7 separate regions of the Homo sapiens genome follow, and all the other regions are linked to region 7. Evidence: promoter capture Hi-C in 16 types of primary human blood cells and fetal thymus (Javierre and others, 2016). All regions are on one chromosome and are shown on one strand. The core of a region is centred on a gene start or on the middle of the fragment in contact, and the rest is flanking DNA. Distances in the headings are between cores, read along the strand shown.

Region 1 (2,700 bases), core at 126-2,625, 650 kb before region 7:
AAAAAATCTACCATAGTTTTCCATTGTGGAGGGAAATTAGTTGTTATTGAAGTGATATTTTTCTTTGGAAATTTATTATACCTAATGTATGTGTGTGTGTGTGTGTGTGTGTGTGTGTGTGTGTGTGTACATGCACATGTGTGTTTTAAACAGTCCGAAACCAAGTAACTTTAGCTGAAACACTTCTCTCTTTTTTTTCAGCATACAATATTAAACACTGGAGTAGCTCCGGGCTATTGCAAGGAGCAAAATGTTGTAAAAACAACTCCCTATGACATTTGATGCTACCCTTTGGCTAGGAAAAGTGTGAGGAGGAAAGGGAACTTCAGACATCTGAGGTTTCAGCTATTCTCTCTTTCTTCCCCATATTTCCAAAATCAAAACTTCCCAGTTGAGACTAATATAAAAATCTAGTCAACCAGGACACCAAAGGATCTAGTAATATAAGTTAGATCTAATCCCATAAAACTCTGTGTCTAAAAATGAGAATATTAACAATAAAAAATAGAGCAAGGAGAAGACTGTATGGTGATGGTTATTGTGGATATATACCTTTCTTAAAGTAACATTTTGTGGCAAATTAGTAAATTGTTGACAGAAATCTCAAGCATTGGTATTAATGAGAGAATATTAACAAAATGATAGCTTATTTTTGTATAGTGGTTTAAGATGTAAAAAAGATTTCCATAAATGCATTCTTATTTGATAGCTTTAATAGCTTTTTAAAATGACTGTGTTCAGTGTACTTTAATAAAGTTTGAATAAATACATCTTCTGGGCCTGAATCTGTGGAAGGTGCTAGAGAAACAGGTATGGCTGAGATGAGGTGCTCAAGAATCTCACTGTTTCCTAGGGGAGTGTGAAGGGTGGACAGTTTATTTCCGTATAAAGTAGTACACAAAGTGACAGAAGCATGGAGAGTGCTGCTGTTGATGGGAAGAGGAAGGAGATTCAATCAAGCTTGGCTCTCTGAGGGCTCCACAAGGGGAAGTCATGTTATAAAAATTTCCTAGAGATGAAGCATTATTTAGTAAAAACCCTAATGTACCTTTTTGAAAATAAGAATTTGAACATTATGAGTTTCAATCCCTCATTCGGCTTTTTTCTCAAAAGGTGGTGGGTTAAAATTCTAACATTCTGGAGGTTACAGAAACAAGGAAGGTGGAGGATAAAATAAGTCTTAACAGGGAAAAAACAGGCAATCTCACTTGTGGGAAGTGAGAAGCAAATAGATCCAAGTGTTCCCTGTATTTGTCCCAGTCCAATTTTCCTCAACTGGACTGAGAAAATGAATATTGGTTAACCAGGAAGTTCCTGAAATTGTGGCTGCTGCCACTGTCAATCAATAATCCAGAATTAAGTTATCAGTAATTAAGCCAGAATTTAAAATTACTATAAGGTAGCTTCCAAACCTAGGTGGTAACAAAGAATTTTGATATTTAAGCTAGACTTAAAGACCTCTTCACCAACTAGTTGCAGTTTTATCTAGTTTTATTTTGTTTTTGTTTAAAATTAATTTTTATAATAACCTTATCTCACATCTGAAAAAATTCTATTTAGGAGATACAATTTATCACATGATGCTAAGATCATAACATCATTTTATAGAAGTATATTATTTAATTGAAATAAGGTACTCTTATTAATAGAAAAATACATCAAATTTTATTGCTTCTCTCACAAGCAAATAGTAGATGATTTTTTTAACAGTCAAATCAGCAGGGAGGATAATCTAGAATTAACGTCTAGATAAGGCAAAAATGATAATAAAAAGAGTAGTGATAAGCTTTTTAAAACAATTCCATTGGGCTAGGAGAGAGAAAATTAAGAGTGAACATTTAGTGAAAGGCAAGTATCTTTTGTAGGATTTAGAATCAGACAGACCTGAGTTTGCAGGTGTAGTTTGCCACCTAGTACCTTTGTGAGACTGAATAAGTTAAACTTTCTGACTACCAGTGTCCTAAGCTGTAAATGAATAATGTAAATAACTAATTTCCTATGATTTTTATATAAAAAGTGGAAAAGCATCTGGCACATTTTCTGACACAGAGAAGGCAAAAGGTACATGTGTTTGTTCTTCCCTGCCAGAAAATAAAATAAAATAAAATAAAATCCTTTAATTAGAGTCTAGCAGCATGTGGATTCTTAGATGGTAAGTTACCTGAAAGCCCTAGATTTGCAAATAAGTTCCAAGAGGATGAGTATTCTTACAGTCAAGGGCATGATATGTTTTCAGGCAGCAAATATTATAGTAAGCTTCTATCCAACATCCCAGGACATGGGGCGGGGGGAGGGAAGGGGAAGGCAGGATTGTAACCTTTAGACTATGAGACATAAAATTCATGACATCAAAGGCAAATGATTCAATATAAACCATAATTCTATTTATATGACTGGATCAGATTAAATTCCTTTTAGATTGCCCTCTATGTGTTTTGCTTTCTCATGGCCGCTGGCAGATAATTATTACCTCTGTAAACATTTCCTTCAAGTCTCAATTTCAAGTCTCAGGAAAGTTATCGCTGACCCCTTCAGGCTAATTTAGGTATCCTACTGTTCACTCGCACAGCACCCAGGACTTTCTGAATGTTTATGTAAGTCCTTAGTGTCTATATGCTCCATGAACGAGGGGTTGCTGTCATCTAATTTACTGTCATATCTGTAGTGACAGCACAGTGCTTGACGCATGGTCAATACCCA
Region 2 (2,700 bases), core at 59-2,558, 990 kb before region 7:
AGCTTTCTCCAGAATGTCTGCATAAGCCAGTTTTTTAAAAATGAGAACCTGAATTTTACCGTGTTTCTTGTCAGCTTAGAAAAAAATTCTTAGTAAAAGTTGCCCACTTAGAAGTACATGAATTCCTTCAGATCAGGGACCGTCTAATCTTACAGTAATTCACGTTCATTTCCCTCTCTGGGTGCCTGATGGAAAATTAAATTCCCCTCCATTCCAGACTCCATGACAACTTTCTTGTGGCTCAATCCTCCACATGGACTTCCTGAGACACTTCGCATATTGATATATATTTTTTCTTTTTTGCTCCAATTCACCTTCACTTATATTAAACCAGCATACAAAGCCATTTGGATATAAACGAATCATAAGACTCAGAAGGCTTTTCTCCTATCTTGCCTTGATTGATACAAAATCATGGACCAAGGCATGACTTTTTCTATCAGTTCTCATCATGCTCTCATTCTTCACGAACTTATAAAATAAAATTGAAGAGATTCTAGATGGCAGTACTAAATGTCTACATTTGCCTTCATGTAAATCAACAACTAAACCACTTATAAACATATGTGTCTTTAAGCTTTGCTTTCAGAATTCCTCCTGGCTTCCCTTTGCACACTGTACGTCAGTTATTCAGGCCATTCAAACTCCTGTCCAATGTGTCCTTGAAATGTTGTGTGACTGATAACATGCCTCTACCTTTTCCTGTCTCACATGGAGCTCATTAGTAGTAGTCCCCAGTGTCTATTGTTGACATCTTCATGTCCACGAGTACCGTTCATTTAACTCCCACTTATAAGTGAGAACATGCGGGATTTGGTCTTCTGTTCTTGTGTTAATTCACTTAGAATAATGGCCTCCAGCTGCATCCATGTTTCTGCAAAGGACATGATTTCATTTTTTATGGCTGCATAGTATTCCATGTTGTATAGGACATGATATCATTCTTTTTTATGGCTGCATAGAATTCCATGATGTATATGAACCACACTTCCTTTATCCAATCCACTGTTGATGGGCACCTAGGCTGATTCTGTCTTTGCTATTGTGAATAGTGCTGCAACGAATATGTAAGTGCATGTATCTTTTTGGTAGAACAATTTATTTTCTTTTGGATGTATATCCAGTAATGGGATTGCTGGGTCAAGTGATATTTCTAAGTTCTTTGAGAAATCTCCAAACTGCTTTCCACAGTGGCCGAACTAATTTACACTCCTATCAACAGTGTATAAGCATTCCCCTTTTGCCACAGACTCACCAGCCTCTGTTGCTTTTAGATTTTTTAATAATTGGCATTCTGACTCATGTGAAATGATATCTCACTGGAATTTTGATTTCATTTCTCTGATGATTAGTGATATGGAGCATTTTTTTCTATGGCTGCTTCTCTGTCTTCTTTTGAGAAGTGTTAGTTCATGTCTTTTGCCCATTTTTCAATGGGGCTATTTGTTTTTTGCTTGTTCAATTATTTAAGTTTCTTATATGGAAACTTTCATGTTTTAATGTCTTTGTTGCTCACATTTTGTTTCCTCTTATAGCTATATTTCTCTAAAGGAAGTTTATCACACAAGGAAAAATTACTAAATATCTTAGAAATATTTTGAAGTGCTTATTAATTAATGATAAGGATAATTTAGAATAATTACATTTACAAATAATGTTTATAATACTGATTAATATCCTAAATGTAAAAAAATCCACATTTCTACATACAATTATATATCTAACATACACGTATGGAATGTGCTTTCTATTTAGAGTTGGGAAGATATTTTGCTAGGATTCACTAGACCATGTTAAAGTCAGCCAAAACATTATTATAGTTGTCAATGTAAGCATTTCTTGTGAAATGCAGAATAGATTTTAATATTTATTCATTAATTAGCTAAAACTATTGATCTATTTTGTTATTATGCAAATGTATTCCAGGTAAAAATCTACCATAATTCTGCAGACAAGTGTATCTAAATTATGCATAATACTCTAATTCTTCCATACAATGTACAAGCGGTGGATTAAGAAAAAGGACAAAATAAGCTTTTTAATATGTTTTCTGCTGTGCTCAGTGAGTACATTAAAATTATGTCCCCTTTTTCCCACACTTGCTTGAGCTGTTAACAAAAGCATAAAGATTACGATTGCCAAATCTGTCCAGTCTATAAATCAAATTAATTATTTTCTCAATCATTTCAGATCTTTGTTTCAATTTTAATAAGTTAGAATAGTTTATCTGGCCAAGGAACTTCCAACAAAGTTTGCTTTATTTTGTTAATAGGACAGATTATGTTGATGAATTTTTGAATGGTAAAATCAGCCTTGCATTCCTAGAATTAATCTTACTCAATCATGCTATATTTATACTGGATTTGAATTGCAGTATTTTGTTTAGGATTTTTATTTTATTTATATTTTCAAGAGAAATCCTGGGCTCTTTTTTATTTTACTTTCTTCTGTGTGTGTGTGTGTGTGTGTGTGTACACATGAGCATGTGTCTGTATGCTGCCTTTGGTGTTGGTATTGGGTAATGCTAGCCTTGTATAATAAATTGGGAGTTTTGCTACCTTCTCTGTTTTTTGAAAAAGACTGTGTAGGCCAGCTGCGGTGGCTCACGCCTATAATCCCAGCACTTTGGGACACTGAGGAAGGCGGATCACCTGAGGTCAGGAGTTCGAGACCAGCCTGACCAACATGGAGAAACCCCGT
Region 3 (2,700 bases), core at 3-2,502, 720 kb before region 7:
ATATCCCAAAATTCCAGTAGCAATCATCCACAATTAGTAAATACTAGCATTTTCATTGTAATTGCTCCATGTTATATGTAATAATTTATATTTTATTATATAGTATTTTGTGTAAAATACAGTATTATTTAGTATTTCATATAAGATATATAAAATATTACATGTATAGTTGAAGGCCACATTATTCTTTATAGTCTTTCCCTATTGCATTCCTCTCCCCTCCTTTCTAGAACAAACAACAAAATGTAACTATATGTCCTTTTATTGCATATATAGCTATGTGTATTTCTAAAATTAGGTAAATGATATTGTTCTTAACTTTTACTCTGATTTATTTTTTGTCCTGGTCATGTGTATACTGTATTTTATCTAAATACTGTATTACTGTATTTTATCCAAATAGTCTTCTATCAAATGATTATACCAAAATGTATTTATTCAGTCCACAATGATTAATTTTTAAATTGTTATGTCATTCTTTCACAAATACACATGCACATGTTCATTTACTGCAGCACTATTCATAATAGCAAAGACATCGATCAACCTAAATGCCCATCCACAGAAGACTGGATAAAGAAAATGTGGTTGGTACATATACACCATGGAATACTAGGCAGCCATGAAAAAGAATCAGATCATATCCTTTGCAGTGACATGGATAGAGGTGGAGGCCGTTACCCTTAGCAAACTAACACAGGAACAAAAACCAAATACCACATTTTCTCATTTGTAAGTGGGAGCTAAACATCAAGTACATATGGACACAAAGAAGGGAACAACAGACACTGGAGCCTACTTGAAGGTGGAGGTTGGGAAGGAGGTGGGGAGTGAAAAACTATCAGATACTGTGCTTATTACCTGGGTAACAAAATAATCTATACACTAAACACTCATGACACATAATTTACCTGTATAGCAAACCTGCATATGTACCCCTGAATTTAATGTTCAAAAAAATTAATTGCTTTCAATTTTCAGATTTTATAAAAAATATTACACATATCTTTGTATAAGGTGTAAGGAAAGGGTCCAGTTCAGTTTTCTACATATGGCTAGCCAGTTTTCCCAACACCATTTATTAAATAGGGAATCCTTTCCCCATTGCTGTTTTTTTGTCAGGTTTGTCAAAGATCAGATGGTTGAAGATGTGTGGTGTTATTTCTGAGGCCTCTGTTCTGTTCCATTGGTCTATATATACCTTTTGGTACCAGTACCATGCTGTTTTCGTTACTGTAGCCTTGTAGTATAGTTTGAAGTCAGGTAACGTGATGCCTCCAGCTTTATTCTTTTTGCTTAGGATTCTCTTGGCTTTATGGGCTCTTTTTGGTTCCATATGAAATTTAAAGTAGTTTGTTTTTTCTAATTCTGTAAAGAAAGTCAGTGGTAGCTGGATGGGGATAGCATTGAATCTGTAAATTACTTGGGGCAGTATGGCCAAAGTAATTCTTCCTATCCATGAGCATGGAATGTTTTTCCATTTATTTGTGTCCTCTCTTATTTCCTTGAACAGTGGTTTGTAGATCTCCTTGAAGAGGTCCTTCACATCTCTTGTGAGTTGTATTCCTAGGTCTTTTATTCTCTTTGTAGCAATTGGGAATGGGAGTTCACTCATGATTTGGCTCTCTGTTTGTCTGTTATTAATGTATAGGAATGCTTGTGATTTTTTCACATTGATTTTGTATCCTGAGACTTTGCTCAAGTTGTTTATCAGCTTAAGAAAATTTTGGGCTGAGACAATGGGTTTTTCTAAATATACAATCATGTCATCTGCAAACAGAGACAATTTGCCAGAATCTACAAGGAACATAAACAAATTTGCAAGAAAAAAACAAACAACCCTATTAAAAAGTGGGTGAAGGATATGAACAGACACTTCTAAAAAGAAGACATTTATGTGGCCAACAAACATATGAAAAAAAAAGCTCATTATCACTGGTCATTAGAGAAATGCAAATCAAAACCACAATGAGATACCATCTCATGTTAGAATCGCACTCATTAAACAGTCAGAAACAACAGATGCTGGAGAGGATGTGGAGAAACAGGAATGCTTTTACACTGTTGGTGGGAGTGTAAGTTAGTTCAGCCACTGCAGATGACAGTGTGGCAATTACTCAAGGATCTAGAACCAAAAATACCATTTGACACAGCAACCCCATTACTGAGTATATACCCGAAGGATTATAAATCATTCTACTATAAAGACACATGCACACATATGTTTATTGCAGCACTATTCACAATAGCAAAGACTTGGAACCAACCCAAATGCCCGTCAATGATACAGCCGATAAAGAAAATGTGGCACATATACACCATGGAATACTACACAGCCATAAAAAAGGATGTGTTCATGTCCTTTGCAGGGACATGGATGAAGCTGGAAACCATCATTCTCAGCAAACTAACACAGGAACAGAAAACCAAACACCGCATGTTCTCACTCATAAGAGAGAGTTGAATAATGAGAACACATGGACACAGGGAGAGGAACATCACACACTGGGGCCTGTAGCGGGGTGGAGGACTAGAGGAGGGATAGCATTAAGTGAAATACCTAATGTAGATGATGGGTTGATGGGTGCAGCAAACCACTGTGGCACATGTATACCTAAGTAACCAACCTGCATATTCTGCACATGTATCCTAGAACTTAAAGTATAATAAAAAATGTATATTACATGTATCATTGTTAGT
Region 4 (2,700 bases), core at 31-2,530, 630 kb before region 7:
GATTGAATAACCATGCCTAAATGTTATGTCACTCTGGAGGGAATTTTCTTTTGAATTCTGCAGGACTCTTTTTTATGTTCTTGTCTGTTAACCTATTTATCAGATTTAAACGAATATACAGGAAATATTTCCACAAAATGCAGAGCTGAGAAAATAGTGAAAATACTGGAAAACATAATCAGGAACCACAAATATCTGGGCAGTTAGAAATAACATAAACAGCTAAAAATTACCAGTGTAAAATTGTTAGATCCTAGCTAAATTATAAAAATCACATATTCTTATTCAGATATTGAAGATTTTGTTTAGAAGTAGTCCATGTGAACATGTCAAAGGTAAACTTGGCATGTTTATATATAAACTTAGCCTGAGTGTGAAGAATTCTGTAACTATTAAAATTGCAATCTTAGGATTAAAATAATAATAAAAAAAAAAGAAACAGTGTTTGGGCCAGGAATTCTCTACCTTGGCCATTTATCAGAATCAGATTGGCTTTGAGCTACTCCTCTTTACAACAAACAAACAAACGAACAACTAAGCAAGCAAGCCAACAGAACGCAAACAAAATCCCTGCCCACGTGGATTTGAAGCATTAAAATGTTGACTCCGACTTTTCTAGAAAGAGTCTGTGAATGTTCAGCTGAGTCCCACAGTGATCTAATCATTTGTGGGTCTTGCTTCAGCACTGAATGTCACACCTTGGAAATCACAAGGAGGATTTGAAACATGATTAAAGAGGAAATGAAAAGTGTAAAGAGACATGAGATCTACGAGGGAGCATAATATGTGCTTTTAATAACTGAAACACTATTATGTGAAAGGAGAATTAAGTTCTCTACATGACTTACCCTTTAGTCCTGCCTATTTCACACCCTCCCCAGACCCCCATCCCCATCCTCCCTTATCCCCCTCAACCCAGCCTAAGCATGAGGATTAATGTGTGAGAACTAAAGTATAAATGCCTTTCTATAATATGTTTCTTTCTTATGTGAGATCTTAAAAAATTGATGGCTGTCTCAGGTATTAATAAATTCCCTAAATTGTAGGCATTCAATAAGTGTGCAATTAACACTTAAGAGGTCATTAAGGGGATGCAAACTTTCAGTGGGAGTTGGAAAATACGATATATTCAAAATGACTTCAGGTCCTTACATTCAATAGGTAGAGCAGTGAATTGAATGCCAGATGAACTTGAGTCTAATTTTTAAATACTACTTCGTTCGTAAAAATTAATACTTTTGTGATTCTGACTTATCTGAAAAATTAAGTACTATCGTTGCATTATTTCTTTATGTCTTTCCAGCTTTGTATTTTTCACTCGTATTTTGTTTTATTCAGTTATTATATTTTCAAAAGCACGTTAAATCTTACTGCTGTAAAAGAAAATTTAGAATGACTAAATTAACAGGTTTAAATATACATGTGACACAGTATATCAGTAAGTACAAGAAATGTATGAAATCAGTTTGCAACATGCTTGAATACTTTTGTTTGAATTATTTTACCAATTCAAGTGGAGATCTGCAGTCATTTATCATTAAAGTGAGTAGAGTAGGTTAGGGAATAATTTTGCCTTAAGTTTTTTTGAAGTATAAAATTTAAAATTTTTGGTAAGCATACTACCAAGTTAGAAAGGGCAAAATAAAAATTAGTGTGAGAAAGTAATATTAATGAGTTTTAAATGGCCTCTGATATGTCTTCTTTAGTTTATTGTGTAGATGCACATTGAAAATTGTAACAAATAAATAAATGCTTGTAAAAGTAAATTATTAACTAAGCAGTAAGAATTGACAACATGAATTTAAAAGAAAACAATATTAACAATAATTTATTCAGAATAATAGACATTTAAGGAATAATGTTATCGTAACTGCATTTAAAATTAGGGCAAATGTCTCCTTTATTTGTCTAAAAAACTGTTTTATTTTTGATTGTATATATTGGCCTCAAAATCAACATTCCTCCGGCCAATTTGACCCCTTTTCCTTTTTCTAAGAGCATTTCCTTCCCTTCCCTTCCCCGCCCCTCCCCTCCCTTCCCTCCCTTTCTTCCTTCCTAATCTAAAACATGAAACAATGTTGCAGTAACTAGGAGACATTTGATATTAAGGATGGCATAAGGTGGATTGTCAATGAAGCTATGTTGCCATTCTTCTTAAAACCTACGTGATTTCGAATCTGCCCCAGCCAAGATGCGGAAGTGGGAATGCAGATGTCCCTGTACTCTGTTCTAAAACCTAGATGACCCCTTGTCACTTCTGTCTGAGGGGTTTGCTGAGATCTACAGACACCTCTTAATTTCCCCAATCAAATATAATTACATCTGTCACTGCTTACAATTATATTAATACATTCTATTGTAGTTTAAGAAAATGCAATTCTTTGTTTACATAAAACTTTGTTTTTCAAGGGTTTTATCAAACGTGTAAAGTTCTCTGTGGTATCAGGTTATTTTGAAAAGCTGTAAATCCTTTAAAGTTTCAATTCAATGTACAGGAATAATAATCTGCCCCACAACATAAATGGAATACCAGTCTTTAAATTCTTTCCACTAAATAACAATCTTTAAGTAGAGTATTTGAATATTCTAAAATTCAATTATTATTAAGTGAAATATTTATAAATATAATTTTAATGTTTTTCTTCATGATATTATGGAAGCATTTTAGAAGTTTAGTTAAACATTATCATAATATGACTT
Region 5 (2,700 bases), core at 76-2,575, 740 kb before region 7:
TGCTTTAGCAAAGAGAGTGGCAGCATTTTGTCCCTGCCTTAGAGATCTGGGGAACTTTGAACTTGAGAGAGATAATCTGAAATTAAAACGTATGTTTAAAAGAGAAGCAGAGCATAAGTTTTGAAAATTTGCAACCAGATGATACAATATAAAAGAAAAACCCATCTTCAGGGGAAAAAATTCAAACCTGCTGCAGAAATTTGCACAAGTAACGAGGAGCCAAATGTTAATCATCAAGGCAAAGAGGAAATGTCTCCAGGGCAAGTCAGAGGTCTTCACAGCAGCCCCTCCTATAATAGGCACCAAGGCTTAGGAGGTAAAAATGGTTTCATAGGTGAGGCCCAGGGCCTTGCTGCTTTGAGCAGTCTCAGGACTTGGTGCCTTGCATCCCAACTGTGGCTAAAAGAGGCCAACATATAGCTCAGGCCATGTTTCAGATGGTGAAATCCCCAAGTCTTGGCATTTTCCATGTGGTGTTGGCCCTGCAGGTGCACAGAAGACAATAATTAAGGTTTGGGAACCTCCAGCTACATTTCAATAGATGTAGGGAAATGCATGGATGTTCAGGCTGAAGTTTGCTGCATGCGTGGAGCCCTCATGGAAAACCTCTGCTAGGGTAGTGCAAAAGGCAAATGTAGGGTTGGAGTCACCCACGCAGAGTCTCTGTGTTACACTTACTCCCAGTAACAGAGAGTCTCCACTGAGGCACTGCCTAATGGAGCTGTGAGAAGAGGGCCCCTGTCCTCCAGACTCCAGAACAGTAGATCCACCAATAGCTTGCCCTGTGAGCTTGCAAAAGCCACAGACACTCAAAGCAAGCCTGTGAAAGCAACTGGGAGGAGGGCTGTATCCTGAAAAGCCACAAGGGTGAGGCTGCTCAAAGCCGTGGGAATCCGTCTCTTTTATCAGTGTGATCTGGATGTGAGACATGGAGTCAAAGGAGATCATTTGGAAACTTTAAGGTTTAATGACTACCCTGCTGGGTTTTGGATTTGCATGGGGCCTGTAGCCCCTTTGTTTTGGCCAATTTCTCCCCTTTAGAATGGGTGTATTTACCCAATGCCTGTACCCCCATTATATTTAGGAAGTAACTAACTTGCTTTGATTTTACAGGCTCATAGCCAGAAAGGACTTGCCTTGTCTCAAATGAGACTTTGGACCTGGGCTTTTGGGTTAATACTGAAATGAGTTAAGACTTTTGGGGACTGTTGGGAAGGCATCATTGGTTTTGACATGTGAGGACATAAGATTTGGGAGGGGCTGGGGCAGACTGATATGGTTTAGCTGTGTCCCCACCCAAATCTCATCTTGAGTTGTAGCTCCCATAATCCCCATGTATCAAGGGAGGGACCCAGTGTGAGGTAATTGAATCATGGGGGTGGGTTTTTCCCATGCTGTTCTCCTGATAGTGAATAACTCTCAGGAAATCTGATGGCTTTATAAAGGGCAGTTCCCCTGCACTCACTCTCTTGCCTGCCAACATGTAAGGCATGCCTTTGCTCCTCCTTTGCCTTTCATCATGACTGTAAGGTCTCCCCAGCCATGTGGAATTGTGAGTCCATTAAACCTCTTTTTCTGTATAAATTACCCAGCCTAGGGTATTTCTTCATAGCGGTATGAAAAGGTACTAATACAAAAATCAACTTAGTTGGCATTTCTTTATTAGGCATCAGCAATTCTAAACTATGTCAGTGATAATACTCCTAAAAAAAATGTTGGTGTAGTTGCAAACAATTTCTACACTTATTGTTGATATTTAATAATATGTGTGCCAGGGTGGCAGATTGTATTTTCCAAAAACAGATGTAATAATATGCTTTTCCAGAATTTTGTCACTCTCCTATCAAGAAGTGTAAACTTCTTCCTCTCTACTTTTCCTCGGATAGACTTTTGTTAACTGTCTCAATAAACACAATGCAGCAGAAGAGATGCTCAATATGACTTTTGAGGTTAAGTCATAGAAACTCCTTCTTGAAAGGGAATGTTTGCTTTTGACCCCCAGCCACCCTTACTGCGAGGAAGCCAAGCAGTCATTTTCAGAGGACACATGTAGATGTTCCTGATGGCACTTGACCAAGATAGACTTAAAACACTCATGTTCCCCTCATTTTGACAAAGCATTATACAGTTTTCTTACTAACTGTGAGCCCCTAATCTTCTTGTTCTTAGAGCATTAACTTTAGAAAACTTGCAATTGTAAATTACTTATTTGCCCCTTTGAAATATCCATCGGTTCCCAGCCTCTTGACAGTTTTGCAGTCCTGAGAAGTCTTTCCCAAGGACCTGAGAGCTAAACCATTGAAATGTAATCATCAACAAAAAATTAGCCCATCTCCCAGTCTCTATGAGAGATGGGGTAGTATCTTTCTTGATGATTACTTAGGTAGGAGCCTAACTTTGATAAATACCAATTAGCAAACACAGATGGCTAATCACATTGACCAACCTCCGCCCTAACATTATCCACCACTGTTTCCTTAGCTAGCCCCAGTGCTTAAGACTCTCCTGACTTTTGTTTTCAGTGGAGTTGAATTCAGTCTCTCTCCGTATTGTAATAGGCTTGATCCCTACTACAATAGTCTTGAATAAAGTCTTCTTCACCTGTTTAACTCAACCCAGTGCTATTTCTCTTTGATTCATTCTCAGCTTAAGTTCCAGATGAGAGCAAGAATCAACTGGTAGATTGCTGAGTGAATGACT
Region 6 (2,700 bases), core at 155-2,654, 610 kb before region 7:
AGGGATTTCTGTATCCCAGGGTTTCCTGCCGTGGTGTACCGGAAGAACCAGATCACGCGAGGGCTTGGAGAATGAGTCCGAGGTTTTACTGAGTAGAAGTAGTTCTCAGCAGATGGGGGAGCCAGATGGGAGATGCACCAGGGGTCCCTCTGCTTAGCGGCCCGTGCTCTCCTCCTCCTGATCTCGCTAAACTCCACATCGTTCCTCCAGTCAATGGCCTGCTGTCCTGCCAGTGTCTGTCATGTGCTCTTCCACTGGCATGCTCCCCTCGACATCCTCTCGATGTCCGGCTGCTTGTGTCTTCTTCCGCTGATCCCCTCCTCTGGACGTCCAGACGCTTGTGTATCTATCTGCCTGCTAGGGTCTCAGTTTTTATCCGCCCAGGATGGGGGTGTGGTGGGCCAGGGTGGTTTTGGAAAATGCAACATTTGGGCCCAAAGGCAGGAGTGCCTGTCCTCACCTAGGTTCGTGGGCACAAGCCAGAGGGTGAAGCCCTAGCCAGGAACCGGCCTTGCTCTACCCAGCACTTCCCTGTCCCCCGTTCGGTATCATTTAAAGGGACCATGCTCGTCCCTTCCCAGCACTCCTGTATCAAAATCAATAGCATTTCTGTACACTAGGAAAAATGTACTAGCCACAATAGAACAGAAACCCTAATTTGCCCAACAGTAAATCCCACAAAAGATGATTTTAAAAACTTTTAGATAAAAAAATCTTATATTGAAAATTCAAATATGTTATTGAAGTACATAAATGGAGCTAAATATTTTCCTGTTTGTTGTAACTTCTATAATTAGTATTCACAGAGAAATCAGCCAATGATAACACTAGGTTATAAGAAAGAAACTCTTGGTAATTAAAATGAAATAAATGGTTTTTTAAAATCAAGAAATAGAAGATAAAGTTAAAAAAAAAAATCTCTAAGCTTTGGAAAGAAGAGGTCATTAGGATGGAAAAGAAGATAGAAAAGATAAAATTTCGCAATTAGTTCAGGTGCCCTACCTTGAAGTGTCAAAAGGATCTGGAAAATAGCAGAGATAAATAGAGGGGAGAGACATCTTACAGAAAAAGAATAACAGAGATTCCCTTCACTGAAATGGTGTGTTGTACCCAACAAAGGGTAACCGCCTGACATACCCCCTCTGCACACACATGAAATTTCAAATTCTAGTAACGAAGAGAAAAGTCCTAAGAACAGGAGACTGTGGAGGGATAAGTCACATACAAAGAAATAGAAATAAAAAGGAATTGTATATTTCCATGACAGTAATGGAAGGAAGCCACAAGACAGTTGAATGTAGAAGTCTGAGGGATGGAGAATGGCTATTTACTTGCTAGAAGTCTGTTTGTACTAACTTATCTTTCAATTATGTGTGTGTAGTGCTTTGCTGAAAGATGGGAAAGAGGCTTTGGGAAAAAGTTTTAGAATATAAACTAAGAGATACTGTTTCTAGTACCAGTACTAACCTAGTGGATGAATTTTTTTGACCATCTAATTTCTCTGGCCCCATATTTACTTATATTTAGAATGAGTGTTTTGGACTAGACTGGTTATATAAACAAGTTTTTTGGTTTGGGTAATTTTAAGATTTTATGGCAATACTCTCTATTTAAAAGTATCTAATACCAACATATGTTAAGCCAAAAAAAAATGGAGAGATGTTCTGTGATTAAAAAATAAAAATCAACATTGGCCGGATTCTACTGTTAGCAATATCCATACCCCCCCCAGCATAAGGTTGTTATGTACAGTAGTCTTCTATATTCTTCAAAAATAGCCTATGCTGATGGAGCTTGACATCTTCAAACTGACTATACCTACAATTTCCTTTTCCAGTGCCTGATTAATTCCCAAACATCAAAAGATTTTATGAGAAGCTTCCAAGTAATTACCTTACAGGAGGTCCCACATACTGTGGGATTTTCTGAATGCCTTAATAATGGGTTTTATAATCAAAAAACATTTCTGAATCCATTAACTTTTTCTTTCTCAATATTATATATATCGTAGGGAAAATAATATATGTGGATCTGATTTATACTACTCATCAAGGCGTTTCAACCTCATGAGAAGTTTTGAAATAATTTTTAGACCGTTTTTGTCTCTTAAGTATTCTAAAAAAGCAAGCCAAATTTAATTAAGAATAATTAACTAGAATTAGATTTTTCTAGTACCAAAATGTTTTATCTCAATCAACAATTTATTCTAAGTTTTAGACAAATCCTAATTGTAGCCAAAATCAACTCATTCCTGTCAACATTGTTGATGATTTGCTATTCTTTTTCATTACAAGATAAAATCAGCCAACTCAATTATGAACTTGAATTTCTTTAGGGACTTAATCCATATTTAATCTGTATTTGCACAAGGGGCATAATTCTAATTTACTGAACTCTTTTTCTAAGCTGCAGGTGTTCTTAAATTAGAAGCCAGAGGAAACTGCTACTTCCTTCTTGTTAGTCAGTTTTTGGAATCAGAAAGCAAGAACTTTGACTTTCCAACAGTATTTTTTTTTAAAACATATTCCCCACTCTCAACAGAATGTTCCACAAAATTTGTAAGTCACTCTAGGGAAATTTCCAGAGTTTCAAGATGTGAACAGCTGTGAGCTACCTAAATGATCCATCTTGCCAAGAAATTGTTACTCCAGAGACGACGAAATAAACAATTACCATTTTTTATTGAAAGTTTCTGCCACT
Region 7 (2,700 bases), core at 122-2,621:
TAATGTTATAATGTATTTCTTTAACATCTAGTACCATTAAATTGATTCTAAAGTTGGGAGTATGGTAGTATGAATGTGAGTTGTTATTAGTCAGAATAGGAGAATAAAAATAAAATTTAGTAAATTAAAACCTTAGACCTTAGACCTAAGACTTTAAGGGTTGGATGATGTTTATCCAGGTGTCTCACCTGTGAAAGCTGCCATTACCATCATCTTCTTTCATCTTTTGCCCTTGCCATTTTCTGAGAACTCTCCTGCTGTTGACATAATCTAGTTATGATTTCTGCCCATGATAAAATAGGACAAATATGCTCTATCTTTGGCCACCAAGGCAAAGGTTACTGGACCTCCAAGTAGTGCTATCTCCTGCTTTTAATTTCCTATAGAGATTCTAGTAATGTGGCTTCTTTTTTCAGTAATTATGACTCAAAATGTTGACCCATACTTTATTACAGTTTTCCCCCTAAAATGTGGTAAACAAACCTCAGAGACAATTTAAATTATTGGAGGTACAAACATTGCATACCTTGAAACTCTTATTCCTTAGTATACAGATTTGTAAGTTTCATGTACCCATAGTCAATGGATTCTGTGCCACCATTCAGGACGTACCACCATCCACCATTCTGGCTGTACCATCCCCAACACCCACCCCTACCCAAACATGCAATTAAAAAATGTTCCCTCACTTGGAAGACCATTTCCCCTCCAACACACACACACACACACACACACACAGAGAGAGAGAGAGAGAGAGAGAGAGAGAGAGAGAGAGGCAGAGAGAAATGACTTAAGGATCTGGTTTCCTCCCAAGTAGCTGGGACTACAGCCGGCGCCACTACCGGTGATGCACTTCCTAGGGTTTAGAACTCCTGTCTTCTACATCTTTCCCCCAGAGACTCAGTCAATCTATGCATATAGTGAGCAATCAGAAAATGTTCGTGGAATATTGTGGAACGTCAAAAATCACTCTGGGCTCTGTAACCTCGGCTTTCTGTTAAAGATGATGAATCATCACAGGATAATTTCAGCATCCAGAGCCCAGACTGCAATCGGGTTTGCAACTGTCCTAACAAGTAGATTTCACCATCTCTGCCCCGAGGAAGCAGAAGGAACGCAAGAAAATTGACAGCTATGCCTTCGGCCTCCAGCTTCCAAGTCGGCCAGATGATTATTAAAAACACTCCTCAGTCAAGGGCGTCGCTTCGAAACGCAGTGGAGGCTGGGGAGAGTTGCAGAATCCATGCCATCCCGCACCTTTGTCGCCCGCTCTTCTTCGGCGCAGGGCACACCGGGACACCCCGAGCCCAACCACCGTCACCAAGGCAACCAGCCTGCACGCCGTCGTCTTGGAGACCGGCTGGCGCCTCAGTGAGCCGAGCAGAGGGGCCGCCTCCGCCCGCACCCAGCATGCTTCGCCGAGGCTATAAGGCCTCTGAAAGGCGAAGACACTTGAGCGAGAGGCTCAGCTGGCACCAAGACCAGGCGCTGAGTAGCAGCATCTACCTCCTACGAGAGATGGGCCCCACTGGCTTCCTGCTGAGGGAGGAGGAGCCGGAATACATGGATTTCCGAGTAACTACCGCCCCTACCGCCCCCAGTTGGCCATCATCCCCGCCCACCAGGTTCCCCCACTGGCATACCCAATGTGCGTAGCCACCATCACAATCTCTGCGGATACTTGCTGCCTCACCCCCGAAAGCGCCTTCCCACGAGTGTTCCAGACTCTAAAATACGTGAAATTACAGAAGGAAATAGTATTTATTAGAAGTTTCTTTTTTGGAGGTTAAGACCAAACTGCAACTCTTGTAAAAGATGATGGCTCTTGATCTTTAGGCTTGAAAATGTCAGAGGCGTATGAATACCTGGTTGGCATTACATGTGTTCTTGGATCTGTTGTTAGTGGTCCTTAGTCCTGTAAATCAAACGAAATGAAAATTCTACAATCTGCTAGCATACTGTAAATATTTTCTAAATAAATAAATAGGTTTCCCTTTACTCTTTGCTCACTCTGAAACTGTATGAAGGCCCTATTAAAGGATGGTTTAAATGGCAATACCTTGGAAAGATATTAATGAATAAAAATTCAAGTTTACTGAAAGACCACAGATATTTCATAATTGCATATCCCATCCTTAACCACTCAAAAATTAGCCACTGCACTACCTCCTAGGAGTTGACTTACAAAATTTTACGTTAGTGCCGTGAAGTTTAAGAATTGAATGCAATTTACTAGTCTGTGCTTATTTAAAGCATCTTTTTTTACTTTGTTGCTTCAATACTTACTGTATTTAATAGTTTTAGCCAAACTAGTCTTGGTGAATAAATTTTGTCCTCTTGAATAAAATTAAATAAATTCACCGACTCAAATGCACCAAACAAAAATCCAAAATGAGCTACCTTACAAAAGGTGCTTAGCTCCACCCCAAAGTAGAATTTCCTTACTGTGAGGAATTTATGGGTTGATATTTGCTTTTTTTCTTCTCTGACTTTGGGAATTAGATTTATTTTCACCTGCCTAAGGGCAGGTCACTTTAAAACCATCCTAATTTGTTAATTTGCTAACAAAGATAAATAATGAAGCCTAGAGACTAGTATCAAGAATTAAGATTCTCCAGTAGAATCTATTCAACCTTTTTGAATCACCTAAACTAAATTACCTCTTCAAATCTCTTTTATTAACTCAGTTTTGCTCTAACT

Evidence for each region. Contacts are between HindIII fragments. The CHiCAGO score rates a contact against its expected background, and 5 or more counts as called.
Region 1: a fragment that was not itself captured here is called in contact with the fragment with the promoter of ZSWIM2 in region 7 in 4 of 17 cell types (M0 macrophages, M2 macrophages, M1 macrophages and 1 more); the score reaches 6.7 in M0 macrophages.
Region 2: a contact is called between a fragment that was not itself captured here and the fragment with the promoter of ZSWIM2 in region 7, in 1 of 17 cell types (M2 macrophages). The highest score is 5.9, in M2 macrophages.
Region 3: a fragment that was not itself captured here is called in contact with the fragment with the promoter of ZSWIM2 in region 7 in 1 of 17 cell types (M1 macrophages); the score reaches 5.2 in M1 macrophages.
Region 4: a fragment that was not itself captured here is called in contact with the fragment with the promoter of ZSWIM2 in region 7 in 6 of 17 cell types (M2 macrophages, M1 macrophages, M0 macrophages and 3 more); the score reaches 9.3 in M2 macrophages.
Region 5: a fragment that was not itself captured here is called in contact with the fragment with the promoter of ZSWIM2 in region 7 in 1 of 17 cell types (M2 macrophages); the score reaches 5.7 in M2 macrophages.
Region 6: a fragment that was not itself captured here is called in contact with the fragment with the promoter of ZSWIM2 in region 7 in 8 of 17 cell types (M2 macrophages, M0 macrophages, M1 macrophages and 5 more); the score reaches 23.4 in M2 macrophages.

What each region holds. Positions count from the first base shown.
Region 1 is chr2:187,500,891-187,503,590 of GRCh38, reverse strand. The region is part of intron 2 of TFPI (tissue factor pathway inhibitor); the gene reads left to right. The region is part of intron 3 of CALCRL-AS1 (CALCRL and TFPI antisense RNA 1); the gene reads right to left. Among named protein-coding and RNA genes, the nearest start is that of TFPI, 52 kb to the left of the region's middle. The HindIII fragment of the contact is 826 bases long and covers 963-1,788 here.
Region 2 is chr2:187,840,696-187,843,395 of GRCh38, reverse strand. No RefSeq gene overlaps it. Among named protein-coding and RNA genes, the nearest start is that of TFPI, 290 kb to the right of the region's middle. The HindIII fragment of the contact is 1,457 bases long and covers 580-2,036 here.
Region 3 is chr2:187,571,846-187,574,545 of GRCh38, reverse strand. No RefSeq gene overlaps it. Among named protein-coding and RNA genes, the nearest start is that of TFPI, 19 kb to the right of the region's middle. The HindIII fragment of the contact is 3,635 bases long and covers 1-2,700 here.
Region 4 is chr2:187,480,989-187,483,688 of GRCh38, reverse strand. All of the region lies in intron 6 of TFPI (tissue factor pathway inhibitor), which reads left to right. The region is part of intron 2 of CALCRL-AS1 (CALCRL and TFPI antisense RNA 1); the gene reads right to left. Among named protein-coding and RNA genes, the nearest start is that of CALCRL, 34 kb to the right of the region's middle. The HindIII fragment of the contact is 2,988 bases long and covers 1-2,700 here.
Region 5 is chr2:187,589,334-187,592,033 of GRCh38, reverse strand. No RefSeq gene overlaps it. Among named protein-coding and RNA genes, the nearest start is that of TFPI, 36 kb to the right of the region's middle. The HindIII fragment of the contact is 3,117 bases long and covers 1-2,700 here.
Region 6 is chr2:187,459,306-187,462,005 of GRCh38, reverse strand. The region is part of intron 2 of CALCRL-AS1 (CALCRL and TFPI antisense RNA 1); the gene reads right to left. Among named protein-coding and RNA genes, the nearest start is that of CALCRL, 12 kb to the right of the region's middle. RefSeq lists a silencer at 1,178-1,378. The HindIII fragment of the contact is 953 bases long and covers 928-1,880 here.
Region 7 is chr2:186,847,841-186,850,540 of GRCh38, reverse strand. It overlaps ZSWIM2 (zinc finger SWIM-type containing 2), which reads left to right and starts at 1,371. Exons shown (of 9, transcript NM_182521.3): 1 at 1,371-1,575. The coding sequence starts at 1,411. The HindIII fragment of the contact is 8,021 bases long and covers 1-2,700 here.